Linked DNA regions of Homo sapiens: region 1 is linked to region 2. The links are contacts of gene promoters, found by promoter capture Hi-C in blood cells and fetal thymus (Javierre and others, 2016). All regions are on one chromosome and are shown on one strand. Each heading gives the region's core, a stretch centred on a gene start or on the middle of the fragment in contact. The rest is flanking DNA. Distances are from core to core; before and after follow the strand shown.

Evidence for each region. The method cuts DNA at HindIII sites, captures the fragments that hold promoters and counts their contacts. A CHiCAGO score of 5 or more calls a contact.
Region 1: a fragment that was not itself captured here is called in contact with the fragment with the promoter of FUCA1 in region 2 in 1 of 17 cell types (neutrophils); the score reaches 5.4 in neutrophils.

The regions. Positions count from the first base shown.
Region 1 is chr1:23,757,108-23,764,001 of GRCh38, reverse strand. It overlaps ELOA (elongin A), which reads right to left. Exons shown (of 11, transcript NM_003198.3): 10 at 6,877-6,894; 11 at 1,943-4,490. The coding sequence ends at 4,429. ELOA-AS1 (ELOA antisense RNA 1) reads left to right here. Exons shown (of 4, transcript NR_038280.1): 4 at 2,851-3,620. Among named protein-coding and RNA genes, the nearest start is that of ELOA, 17 kb to the right of the region's middle. The HindIII fragment of the contact is 6,411 bases long and covers 1-4,459 here.
Region 2 is chr1:23,866,803-23,873,794 of GRCh38, reverse strand. It overlaps FUCA1 (alpha-L-fucosidase 1), which reads left to right and starts at 5,505. Exons shown (of 8, transcript NM_000147.5): 1 at 5,505-5,897. The coding sequence starts at 5,509. CNR2 (cannabinoid receptor 2) reads left to right here. Exons shown (of 2, transcript NM_001841.3): 2 at 1-3,280. RefSeq lists a silencer at 5,874-6,093. The HindIII fragment of the contact is 15,238 bases long and covers 1-6,992 here.

The DNA of each region.
Region 1 (6,894 bases), core at 5-2,504, 110 kb after region 2:
GCAGTGAGCCGAGATCGTGCAACTGCACACCAGCCTGGGCAACAGAGCGAGACTCCATCACAAAAAAAGAATTTAAAAAAAAAAAACAGAAACGACTCTGGCCTTGGCTCAGGCATCTTTTGTTTTGGAGGTCAGCTTTGCTTCAGAGGCCAAATTGGGTATGCATGTCAGTGTATGAGATGGTAAATGTGACTGAGAGCATGTGTTTTGGAGTCAGGCCAATACATAGCACCACTGCTCACTGATTCTGTGAACTTAGGCAAGTTCTTCATCTCTCTGTGCTTCGGTTTTTCTCATTTTCATTAAAACAATTTTTTAAAATTTATTTCTACAGACACTATGGTGACTTAAGTTCTCATTTTTATTTTTTAATCCCCTGGATTTACCAGGATTAAGTTGTCATTTTTAAAATGGGGCCATGACTGTTTACCTCACAGGATCATTGTGATAACAGAGGCAGTGTACAGAAGAAGGAATGGTGGCACCTAGTAGGTGCATAATCAATAAAGTCAGTTACTCCTCCCTAACTGTTAAGTGTCAGAGTCTATTACTCCATATCCTAAGGTCTAATACAGGTCCTGGCTCAGCAAATGTTTAATTAATCGATAAAGGACAGATTTGTATGTTTGATGGAAGGTCCAATCCACTTGCTGTATGCAGGGTTGAAGCCAAATCCATGGCTCCATTAGCAAGTGCTAAAGCTCCTGCAGGTCAGCCAGAGCCACCACAGCAGGTTCTCATTAAGTCTTTGCTGGCACGACTTTCCTGCATTCATGTTCCTTCTGTACTCATTAGAACGCCCGTGTAAGCTGAGACCTACTGGTCCCTCACAGCCCGTGGAAACTGAAAGGCAGAGTGGCACAAACCTTGCAGTTAGAGAATCACGGTGTCAAATCCTTCCTTTTGCCACTTTATTAGCTACGCAACTTGGCCATGTTAATTTCACTCCTTTCCCCCCCCTCCCCGTTTGTTTTTTATTTTTTTGGAGACAGGGTCTTGCTCTGTCGCCCATGCTGGACTGCAGTGGCAATCATGGCTTATTGCAGCCTCAACCTCCTGGGCTCAAGCCATCCTCCCACCTCTACCTCCCGAGTGGCTGGGACCAAAGGTGTGTGCCACCACACCCAGCTAGTTTTGTATCTTTTGTAGAGATAGAGTTTTGCCATGTTGCCAAGGCTGGTCTCAAACTCTTGAACTCCAGCAATCCACCCTCCTTGGCCTCCCAAAGTGTTGGGATTACAGGCATGAGCCACAGTCCCTCCTAACCCCCTACCCCTGTTTTTTTTTTGAGACAAAAAAAGAGATGGGGTTTTGCCATGTTGCCCAGGCTGGTCTTGCTCTGTCACCTAGACTGGAGTGCAGTAGCATAATCACAGCTCACTGTAGCCTCGACCTCCCAAGCTCAAGTGATCCTCCCACCTCAGCCTTTCACATAGCTGGGACTATAGGTGCACCATCACACCTGGCTAATTTTTAATCTTTTTCTAGAGACAGGGTCTCAATATGTTGCTCAGGCTGGTCTTGAACTCTTGGGCTCAAGCAATCCTGCCTCCGCCCTTCAGTGTTGGGATTACAGATATGAACCACCATGCCCGGCCCCATTTCACCCCTTTGAACCAGTTTCTAATTTTAAGATGGGGTTACCAGGGTTCCAAGTATAATAAGGGACAGTGCCTGTTCCCCACAAATGCTGAGTTCCCGCCCTTTGCTCACAGAATTCTTTCCGTCTGAAATTCCTCTTACTACTAAATTCGGCATCGTTTAAGGCCCAGCCCAAGGATGCTGATTAAGATCTCTGCCTTAGGAGGGTGCGGTGAGCTGAGATTGCCTCCTCCATCTCAAAAAAAAAAACAAAAAAAAAAACTCTGCCTTAAACAGTCCAAGAATCAGGCATTTTCTAACTTCTTTCCACTGATGCTATAAGTAAGGAAGACACAGTATATGGAGTTTGTTTTTTATTTAGACATGGAATTTTCCTTTTCATATAACTTATCTAATTAAAATATTCATCTCGGTAGTTACCACAAAAAAGTAACATAGAAAATTGTATTTACATTTTGGGACCAAAATACAAATGAAGAGCAGGATGACACCTTGCTCCTTTCCCTCCCGCTTCCCAGAAAGAAAAAGCCCCAAAGAAACTGCTCAGTACACCAAGGATCACAAAAGGGTAATTTGTAATTTGGTGATTTGTATGTAGTGTAGCACAGAAAAAAAATTGCACAAGTTTTTCCATAAATGAGACCAAAGGTTCAAATTCATCCTGTGTCAGGTTCAAATTCATCCTGTGTCTGCTCTGCAGCCATTTTAGTAAGCTGGGCAAGGAGGTCATTTAGAAATTGGGTTTTTCCTCTTTCCCCTGACTCTTCGCACCAAGTCACATCCCTGATGTAGATACTCTTGGGGGAGGGGAAAACATCTGGCTCTATGCAAACAGGGCTCATCAAAAATCTTTATGTGCCAAAATGGATACTGACATTGCTATGAACAAATCTGTTTTTTCTTCCCTCCCTGCCTAAAGACTCCTAATAAGGGACATTAAATCATACACAACTGAATCTAAGATATGAAAAACTAGTTTCAATGACAAAGACTTGAACACACAGTTAAGAGATAAATTCAAGGTGGTAGACACCTAGAAAAAGCTATTCTAGGCAGCAGACATCTGGCACCTGACCCAAATGTTCATTTGGTTTCAGTTAAGAGGCTTCCTAATATTAGATTTGTGGGGCAGGCTAGGGATAGGGGTGGAATGGTGGTACAAGTAACCAAGAGAAGTAAAGTAATGCTTTACCCATTCAAAAATATAGCAAATTAAAACATAGTAACATTTGTGTCCTGTCACAATAGGCACCCTGCACAGCAATACACACTGAACAATGTCGAGTTTCTGCTGAATAGACTTCCTACGTTGCTCTGGAATTCGAAGTTGGCCTAACTGAGGTCTCCAGTTACAGAAAACACTGGCTCTGTATCCTGGGCTTTGAGAAAACTTATCAGGCTGTCACACTTACCATCCCTTCAGTCTGCTTGTCAGGTTCCTTAAGGACGCATATCTCAAATGTATGGCATCTACCTCTACCTGGGTCACAACCAAGTGGGTTTCTACTAGATCGGTGTTCCTTGACAGCCAACAAGGGAGCTGACACTGCCCTCCTAAGTTCTGATCTTGCTCCTGTTCAACTGGAACTTGATGGATCCCATGTGGTTTCCCCCATCCTGACGCTGTGGCTCAGACACTCTCCCTAAGCTGGTCCTTCCCTCCAAATCCTGCCTTAAACACACTCAGAAGGTAGAAAACACTTCAGCAGCAAAGTCCTCTTCCCAAGCCAACAGTTGTGTTCTTCCAATCACATGATCTTACCTTTTCAATAAAAGGCAAAACAAACCAATTTCCAACATAGCATTACAGCCTTTAAAACCATTCACTTCTCATAGTGATTCACAGAGAACAAGAGATTAAAGTGCTGGATTTTAAATGTCTAAAGTTGCCTTCAGGGCTACAAAAAGCCCTGCCGTGTGTGTTTTTCCTTCATGGTGTTGAGGGGAAGGAAAGATAGGGAAGGGCAGTGGGGAGAAACCCTAAAATTTTCAATCAGAAACTGGAAATTGTAAAAGTGGGAGGTGGGGAGTTCTGTGCAAATCAATCTCCCAAGGTTCTGCGTCCTCTAGTGAGCCTCAAAGAAAAAAAAAAAAACAAAAAGGTGGGGACTCGCAAAAAGGATGAGGGAAAGGCTCCAGACCTACAGAGCACCTCCCTTAATAAATACCAGTTAGTAAGAAAGAGATGCACCTGCACAGGAATGCACAGCAACAGTGGGGAGGGCCTGAGGTGGAGTCCGCCGAGCACCCTGTCGCCCCACTGAGGCTCCCTTGGGGACAGGCGGTCTAGTGCTCATTCCTTGCCCTACGTGCAGCAGGTACTGTGCAGGCTCTGGAGATGCCCAGTCCTCTGTCTGGACCAGAGTCCACACAGAGCTGAGCTGGGGCAGGAGACTGGCTTTCACTAGGCTTTCATCTGATTTTAATAAGGACCTGGAAGATAAAAGGCTAAATGTGTGGTAGAGGACAAAAAACAAAAACAAACCTGGGGGATAATATAAATACAATCTGGGGGCAATATTTATTAATTAAAACTACGTCTTATAGTTTACAAAGATGCTAATGAACAACAAAAGTATAATTGACCTTTAAAATCCTCAGTGAGACAGAGGCTTCACATCTTCAGAATTCTAAAGTGTGCTCCAGGCAGGGAGGCGGGGCTGTGGCACGCAGGTTCCCAGGGGCAGCACCTGCAGACTGCAGGACTCGGAGACCAAAAGGATCCACAAAGCAAGACTCCAGTCTCCTGTAGAATTCCATTCCCCAACCCCCACTGTCCTTGTATTCCTGCCTCCCCAGATTCCATTTCCAAGGCAAGTCCTCAGTTTATCGTCGGGAGAATCTGTTCTTGAAAGCTTTAATTGTCTTGGCCATCATTGGGGCAATTTCTGTGAAAAGAGAAACAAGGCAGCTGTCTCAGATCTGTGGCGGCTTAGACACACCCCCAGTAGTTTACAGTCAAAGCCAGCTCTGCTATTCTTGGCTGTGCACCACCAGGCAGAGATACAAGTAGTAACTATCTCCTCTGTTCACAATGCAATAAAAGCAACAGCACAGAGCAGACACTTTCGGAGGACCTGCCAGGGGCATGACCACCACTCTCTCTAACCACCTGCACCAAGGCTCAGAGAGCCTGGCCAACTTGCCCATGGTTGTACAGTAAGGTACAGAATTACAATTCAATCTCTGTCAGACTTTCTTGTTTTTATTTTTGTAAGGAAAGAGTCTCACTCTGTCACCCTGGCTAGGGTGCATTGGCACAATCACAGCACACTGTAGCCTCTACCTCCTAGACTCCAGAGTAGCTGAGACTACAGGAGTGTGCCACCATGCCTGGCTAATTTTTTTTTATTTTCTGTAGAGTCAGGGTCTCACTATGTTGCTCAGGCTGGTCTCGATCTCCTGGGCTCAAGCACCCTCCTACCCCAGCCTCCCAAAGTGCTGGGATTACAGGTGTGTGTGAACCACTGTGCCCCGGCCCTTGCCAGACTCTAAAGGCCATACTCAGTCATAACTTAACTTTGCCTCACAAATAGCCAAACCAGTAAACAGCACGTCTACCCCCAATCTGTCCAGTGTAGAAACAGGTCTAAGGTGGCTATGCAAGTACTGCCTAAGGAAGGCCAGCCTGCCTCCTGAATGGTTCATCTGAGCATAGCTGTAGCTCAAGCCAGGACTCCCACCCTCCCATGGGCCCTGCAATTAATACAGAATAAGACTTAAGTTAGGACATCCCCTTAGGATACTGGGGATAGTCTATGGTAATAAAGTTAACAAAATACAAAATAGACGCAACTAGATATAAAGAATAAATATTTGGAAGACCCGGCCAGGCATGGTGGTTCACGCTGGTAATCCCAGGACTTTGGGAGGCTGAGGCGGGCGAATCACAAGGTCAGGGGTTCGAGACCAGCCTGGCCAACATGGTGAAACCCCGTGTCTACTAAAAATACAAAAAATTAGCTGGGCTTAGTGGCGGGCACCTGTAATCCCAGCTACTTGGGAGGCTGAGGCAGGAGAATCGCTTGAACCTGGGAGGTGGAGGTTGCAGTGAGCCGAGATCACGCCACTGTACTCCAGCCCAGGCGACAGAGTGAGACTCTGTCTCCAAAAAAAAAAAAAAAAAAAAAAAAAAAAAAATAAATAAATAAATTGGAAGACCCAATTAGATATAAAGAATAAATATTTGGAAGCTAGAGTTATAAGACTATAAAAAAACAGTAAGAGGGCCTGTCATTTAGCTGTTAATATTAGTAATTATGAACACTGTGGTATTGCCTAGAGAAGTCAGTTTATATTTAGGTGAAAAAAGAAGAGTGCCAAAATGGTCATTCACAATGATATTTATTTATTTATTTAGAGACAGTGTCTCACTCTGTCATCCAGGCTGGAGGGCAGTGGCACAATCCCAGCTCACTGCAACCTCTGCCTGCCAGGTTCAAGCAATTCTCCTGTCTCAGCCACCCGAGTACCTGAGATTATAGGCACATGCCACCATGGTGGGCTAATTTTTCTATTTTTAATAGAGACAGGGACCATGCCTGGCCAGATACTATTTTCTACTTTCACTTTTTTTTTTTTTTTTTTTCCAGAGACAGGGTCGGCCGGGCACAGTGGCTCACGCCTGTAATCCCAGCACTTGGGAGGCCAAGGCGGGCAGATCGCGAGGTCAGGAGATCGAGACCATCCTGGCTAACATGGTGAAACCCCGTCTCTACTAAAAAATAGAAAAAATTAGGTGGGCATGGTGGTGGGCACCTGTAGTTCTAGCTACTTGGGAGGCTGAGGCAGGAGAATGGCATGAACCTGGAAGGCAGAGCTTGCAGTGAGCTGAGATTGTGCCACTGCACTCCAGCCTGGGTGACAGAGCGAGACTCCATCTCAAAAAATCCTCCCACCTCAGTCTCCTGAGTAGGTGGGACTACAGGTGTGTACCACTATGCCCTATTTTTTAATTTTTTGTAGAGGGTCTCATTATGTTGTCCAGGCTGGTCTTGAACTCCTGGATTCAAGGGATCCTCCTGCCTCAGCCTGCCAAAGTGCTGGGATTACAGGCATGAGCCACTGCACCCAGACTCACTATAACTATTTAAGAGATATAATGCACTATGGACAAAGCAGGGGGAAGGAGGGACTGACATTCAGACCAGCTATGTGCAAGGCATCATGTACATGCAACATGCAGTCCACAAAATGTAATACAGTGAATAATGACATTGAGAGTTAAAAACTAGTGCTGAAATAATATTTGAGCAGGAACTCCAAGTTACTTACTCTTCACAGTGGGTTTCC
Region 2 (6,992 bases), core at 4,256-6,755:
CTGGAAGCAGGCAATGTCCTAGTCTAACCTAACTCGAAGAAAAAAAGGAAGATATTCACAAAGATTGTATAAATCTCCAAACTGTTCCCCTATCTGCCCCCAATTCAGCTCCCTTGCCTCCTCCACACCCCTATTACATATAATAAGCAGAGCAAGTGGGAGGAGGGGAAATGTCCTTCCTATATGCCAGGTATGGGGCTGACATTTCAGTCTATTGACCCCAGCTAGAATATAGCTCCATGATTTTAAAGATCTCAGGGGCCAGGCATGGTAGCTCATGCCTGTAATCCCAGCACTTTGGGAGGCCAAGGCAGGTGGATCACCTGAGGTCAGGAGTTTGAGACCAGCCTGACCAATATGGTGAAACCCTGTCTCTACTAAAAATACAAAAATTAGCAGGGCATGGTGGCAGGCACCTGTAGTCCCAGCTACTCGGGAGGCTGAGACAGGAGAATTGCTTGAACCCTGGAGGCAGAGGTTGCAGTGAGCCGAGATTGCACCACTGCACTCCAGCCTGGGTGACAGAGCAAGACTGTCTCAAAAAAATAAAATAAAATAGATCCCAGGGTACTCATTTTTCATATGAGGGAGGCTGGGTTCCTCCCAGAGGAGCCTAAAACAGCCAACAAGAGAAATTGTTGGCGGCAGGAAGATTGCAGAGGAATTCTAATGCAATTATTTGGGACCTCAAATGGAATAAAATGAAAGATATTGGTTAAACATGTCTTCGTTTAATACTTTCAAGACAAAATATCCACTAGCTATTCACTTATTCATTCATCTCATAAACATGAGCCAGGCTCTGTGCAGGGTCCTGAGTACCCAGCCATAAATGAGACTGTGCCCCTGTCTCATGGGGCTTACAGTCTATATCCTGCTTGCAAGACAGCCAATAAGTCAATAAAGAAGATAATTACAGGCAGTACAACAAAGGAAATATGCAGGTTCATGTCATGTAATAGGGATTAATTGAGTTAACTCAATAAACGGTAGGATAGACCTACCATGTGCCGGCTCACTTTTATTGAGCCTTTACTATGTGCCAGGCAGGGGGCTAAGTGTTTTTAAATGCCTTATTTCACTTCATGTTTCCCAACAACCTAATAAGAAGGTCTTAGTTATCTTCATTTTACAGATGTGGCAACCTCAAAGATGCAAAGTCACTTGTCTAAGGTCACCCTGCTAAGTACCAGAGCTGAGGTCTCCAACCTAGTTCTGTTTGACTTCAAAGCCTGCCCTCTTAACCACTAACCTTTTGTCCTAGTTCAGTCAAATTCTGCTTGATTATTGCTCATTAGGGATAATATTAGCTATCTGTAGCATCAGATTGCTGCAAAGTTAACTCATCGTAGATTCTCAATATACTCCATTTTATTAAATGGCCCCGTATTAATCTCCTGTAATAAATTTCACAAATCCAGTGGCTTATCAACAGAAATTTACTGTCTCATAATTCTGGAGGCCAGAAGTCAAAATCAAGATGTGGTAGGGCCCTGCTCCCTCCAAAAGTTTAAGGGGAGAATTATTCCTTGACTCTTTCAACTTCTGGCAGTCCCTGTCATTCCTTGGCTTGTGGAAACATCACTCCTACCTCTGACTCTGTCTTCATATGGCATTTCCTCTGTGTCTCTTGGTGTCTTTTTTTTTTTTTTTTTTTTTTTTGAGACGGAATCTCATTCTGTTGTCCAGGCAGGAGTGCAGTGACATGATCTTGGCTCACTGCAACCTCCACCTCTCAGGTTCAAGTGATTCTCCTGCCTCAGCCTCCCAAATAGCTGGGACTACAGGCACCCGCCACCACACTCAGCTAATTTTTGTATTTTTAGTAGAGATGGGGTTTCACCATCTTGCCCAGGCTGGTCTTGAACTCCTGACCTCAAGTGATCCGCCCACCTTGGCCTCCTAAATTGCTGGGATTACAGACGTGAGCCACCATACCCGGCCTGGTGTCTTTTTTAAAGAATATCAGTCACTGGATTTGGGCCCACCCTAATCCTAATAGTATGACTTCATCTTAATTTAACCAATTATATCTGTAGAGACCCTGTTTCCAAATAAGGTCACATTCACAGATTCCAGGTGGACAAGAAGTTTAGGCGGACACTATTCAACTCAGTACAGACCCAGGAACAAAGTCCACCCACTGGGCTGTGTTGAGTGGCAGTCACTAGTTTATCCTCCCTCAACAAGATGAGCTCCAGGTTGACCTCTGCATCCCCAGTGCTCAGTCAGGACCCAGCAGAGCATCTGAAGGGATCTGGTCAATATGTGTGGAACTGAACTGTTTCTGAAAAGCTCTGACGTATGTTTTGGAAAATCAAATCTTGTTTTAATCCAGACACCAATCTTTTTGTAAGGCAAACAAGTAGCATAAATGTTTAAAAGTGAATTTGCATGTTTATATACTGTCATTCCTTAAAGTTGAAGCATGCCTTTCTTTATTCATCGGTGGAATCCTTTCTCATTTTGGCAAAGAAAATGCCCAAGTGCCTGGCACAAACAAGCACTGAGTAAATACTTCTTGAATGAATAAAACTAGATTCTAAAAATCATTTGATCAAACGCAACTCCACACTTTCTACTTCTCTTCTTTTAGAACCACACTGTATTTCTGCTTTTTTTTTTTTTTTTTTTTTTTTTGACATAGAATCTCACTCTGTCACCCAGGTTGGAGTGCAGTGGCATGCAATCTTGGCTCACTGCAACCTCTGCCTCCTGGGTTCAAGCAGTTCTCCTGCCTTAGCCTCCCATGTAGCTGGGATTACAGGTACCCGCCACCATGCCCAGCTAATTTTTGTATTGTTAGTAGAGATGGAATTTCACCATATTGGCCAGGCTGGTCTTGAACTCCTGACTTCAAGTGATCCACCCACCTTAGCCTCCCAAAGTGCTAGGATTACAGGTGTGAGCCACCACTCCCAGCCCCTATGTCTGCTTTAAGTGGAGAAGCAGAGCTTATGAGGGAGGAGAACAAGGGTGCAAAAGGGACCTAGATATCACTGAGAACTGCCCTTGTTGTTTGGTTGAGGAAATGGGCCCAGACAGTGGACAAGACTTGCTCAGGGAGACAAACGAGATGGTGTCCAGTGCAACAAACCTAGGTTTCCTAACTTCCAGTTCTGTCCACTCTACATCAGTGCCTCTCACCTGTCCCTGCAGGTTCACATTTTGGTTATGTGGATAAGGAGAAATAAATTGAAGATCACAATGTCCCATTTTATCTTCCCCAAGACAAGCTCTGTAACATTAAAGACCACTATGCAAACCGATTACTAGAAAATGTGTGTGGATGGGTTCGGTTTTTTTCCTAAGGTGTTCATGCTTACTGTTTTGGGCAATATTTCAACATAATCTGGCAGAAAAAGAAACAGAAGATAAAGAAAATAGCTGTAGGCCGGGTGCAGTGGCTCATGCCTGTAATCCCAGCACTTTGGAAGGCTGAGGCTGGCGGATCACTTGAGGTCAGGAGTTCGAGACCAGCCTGGCCAACACGGCGAAACCCCATCTGTATTAAAAATACAAAAATTAGCCAGGCGTGGTGGCGTACCTGTAAACCCAGCTACTCGGGAGGCTGAGGCAGGAGAATGGCTTGAACCCAGGAGGTGGAGGTTGCAGTGAGCTGAGATTGCAGCACTGCATTCCAGCCTGGGCGACAGAGCAAGACTGCATCTCAAAAGAAAAGAAAAGAAAAAAGAAAAGAAAAGAAAAGAAAACAGCTGTGATTCAGCAATAGTCATTTTCTCTCCTTGTCACTGCCAGAGTGAGGAAGTGCTGGGTTCTGTCAACATAGGCTCTGACTTCTCATGAGGTGCAAGAAAGAAGCAGCATGAACAAAGGCATAGATTTTGCACCTGGAGACACGTATTCTAGTCCCACCTCTGACTCAAACTAGCTGCATGATCTTGGGCAGCCCCCCAGCCCTCTCTGGGCTTCAGTTCCCTCCTCGGTACAATGGGAAGGGTAGGGAAGAGGATGGTGCCTAGGATCTTCAAAGTCCCAACTCTGATGTGCTGCCATTCTCTCACTGGCATGTGGGAACTGAGTGTGCTACGTGGAGTCATGAGACTTCTTCTTCCTTTTCTTTTTCTTTTTTTTTTTTTTTTTTTTTGAGACCGAGTCTCACTCTGTCGCCCAGGCTGGAGTGCAGTGGTGCGATCTCGGCTCACTGTAACCTCCACCTCCCGAGTTCAAGCAATTCTCCTGCCTCAGCCTCCTGAGTAGCTGGGATTACAGGCGCACCCCATGCCCGGCTAATTTTTGTATTTTTAGTAGAGATGGGGTTTCACCATGTTGGCCAGGCTGGTCTCAAACTCCCGACCTCAGGTGATCTGCCCACCTCGGCCTCCCAAAGTGCTGGGATTACAGGCGTGAGCCACCTTGTCTGTTCAGAGACTTCTGACTTCCGTATTTCCCTCGCTAATGGCCTCACCTCCCGTTTGAGTATGTGCAGCATGTGCAAATTGCAGAGGAACTGGGGAACTTCCCTGCCAGGCAATCCTGGGTCCTCTTGGCTCTCCACTTCCTCCTTCCTTCCTTCCTTCCTCCTTCCTTCCTTCCTTCCTTCCTTTCTTTCTTCCTTGGTCTGGCTCTGTCGCCCAGGGGCTGGAGTGCAGTGGCGGTATCTCGGTACAAACTAAGCTATTTGAAATGCCTCGGAATTCCCAAAGAAAGCTCAGTAAATACCAGACAGATGAAACGGTCCTGCCCGCTCTCCCTCTTTCAGTACCCAGTTTTCTCTTTCCTCTCCTTTCATAACGTTTCTTCCCATCATCCCTCTACCTCCTTATTTCTGTCAGGGCTGTTAGATACCCTTCCGGTCTGTTATCTCCTCCTCCAGCCTTGTGCTACAGGACAACTCAAAAGCCCCCTATGGCTCCCAAGTGATCACTAAATAAAACTCGTGATCTCACTTCAGCCTACCCCTGCAGGATTGCTGCGGCAAAATGGACTACTCCCAGAGGCGTGATCACGGTTCGGTTCACTGCAGCCCAGACTTCCCGGGCTCAAGCGATCCCGAACCTCCCACCTCAGCCTCTCGAGTAGCTGGGACTCCAGACGTGCACCACTACGCCAGGCTCATTTTGTTTATTTTTTATAGAGACAGGCTAGTCTCCAACTTGTGGGCTCAGAGCGATCCTCCCGCCTCGACTTCCGAAAGTGTTAGGATTACAGGCGTGAGCCACTGCGTCCGGCTCAATGGACTCCTTCTTAAATGTGAGTTCTCCGCACACACTGGGCCTTGCTCACCTCCACGATTTAACCTCGCAGTTAAGTCCCTTTTCAAGGTTTTTATTCGTCCTTCAGCGAAGCGCTGTCAACGCCTCCCTGCGTCTTTCCCTTCTTGAGCACCAGAGGGCGCTCCTCCGACCCGAGGAGGAAGCGACTCGGGCCAACCTGTCCAGGTTGTCCCACCCCTTTTTCCTTCCGGGCCAATCGTTAGTCAGAGTGGGCGGAGCCGCCCGCGGGCACCTGCGCGTTAAGAGTGGGCCGCGTCGCTGAGGGGTAGCGATGCGGGCTCCGGGGATGAGGTCGCGGCCGGCGGGTCCCGCGCTGTTGCTGCTGCTGCTCTTCCTCGGAGCGGCCGAGTCGGTGCGTCGGGCCCAGCCTCCGCGCCGCTACACCCCAGACTGGCCGAGCCTGGATTCTCGGCCGCTGCCGGCCTGGTTCGACGAAGCCAAGTTCGGGGTGTTCATCCACTGGGGCGTGTTCTCGGTGCCCGCCTGGGGCAGCGAGTGGTTCTGGTGGCACTGGCAGGGCGAGGGGCGGCCGCAGTACCAGCGCTTCATGCGCGACAACTACCCGCCCGGCTTCAGCTACGCCGACTTCGGACCGCAGTTCACTGCGCGCTTCTTCCACCCGGAGGAGTGGGCCGACCTCTTCCAGGCCGCGGGCGCCAAGTGAGTGTGGTCCCGGGGAGCGGCGCCCCTTCCCGGCTCGGGCGGCAAACAGGAGGTGGGGCTGGGCGGCCAGCTGGGGCGCGCAGCTGCCGGTCGCCCCCATGACCCCGGGGCCCGCGTGTGGCCTCCTGCGGCCACAGGAGTGAGCCTGGCACACCTGATGAGGAGGAGGAGGTGCGTTTGACTGGGGACTGATAAATGAAGGTTCAGGGAGATGGCAGGCTGGGAAGCCCTGGGTATCTGCACCTGTGCACCGAGAGGGCTGAGTTAGGCCATACCTGATGTCCCTTTCAGATTGACAGCACTATCAGGACTCCAGGGTTTCAAATCAGTGGTGTGGAGCCTGGTTCTAATTCAACTGTGAACCTGGACATGTCACTTCAGCCTCCCTGCAGCCTCTTCTATGGTTGTAGAAAGGGGTTATATAAGGATACAACCCTTTGAGCCCTAATGTCTCTAAGAGGGAAAGAGAGGGGAGTTCTGGTGTGCAGTGTATTTGGGCAACAGTACAGATAGTCATTCGTTTGCTCCTCTCAATCCCTTTTACGTAGGAAGTGTCCAGGAAGGGTCTGACTCTCTCTGAGAACTGTTGGAACTTGGGGGTGGCTGGTTCAGAGAACAGAGTAGAGAGCGCTGGGGTGGGGATAAGGGGAGACCACGACCCATGAAGTTGTCAAGGCAGGGGCTTGTCCTGAAGGAGTGAGCCTTGAGAGCCCTGTATTGACAGATGTTAAGTCAGGGAGTGGTTACTATCAGCTTCTAGAAAGATTCATTCGGCTGCTGGGAGAGAAGTGGGTTGGAGAAGAGTAAAAATGGAGGCGGGGAGGTTTCCCCAGCCCCTGGCTTAGAGCAGTCTTCCATCCTTACCTTGGTTCCTCAGCCATCTTCCGGGTTTTCGTTTCTCTTGAACTTTGAATTCACTTGTACTAAAGAGAAGTTACAACTGGCATTTAGTGTTTGCCATTAAATGTATGGGAGTATAAGACTTGATTAAGCAGAGGAAGTGTTTGTCTCCTAGGGGCCTTAGGGATCCATAACTTACAAGTGAGAAAAATTAAAATCTGGGAGATAACCTCTTTCCATGCCTTTTATTTC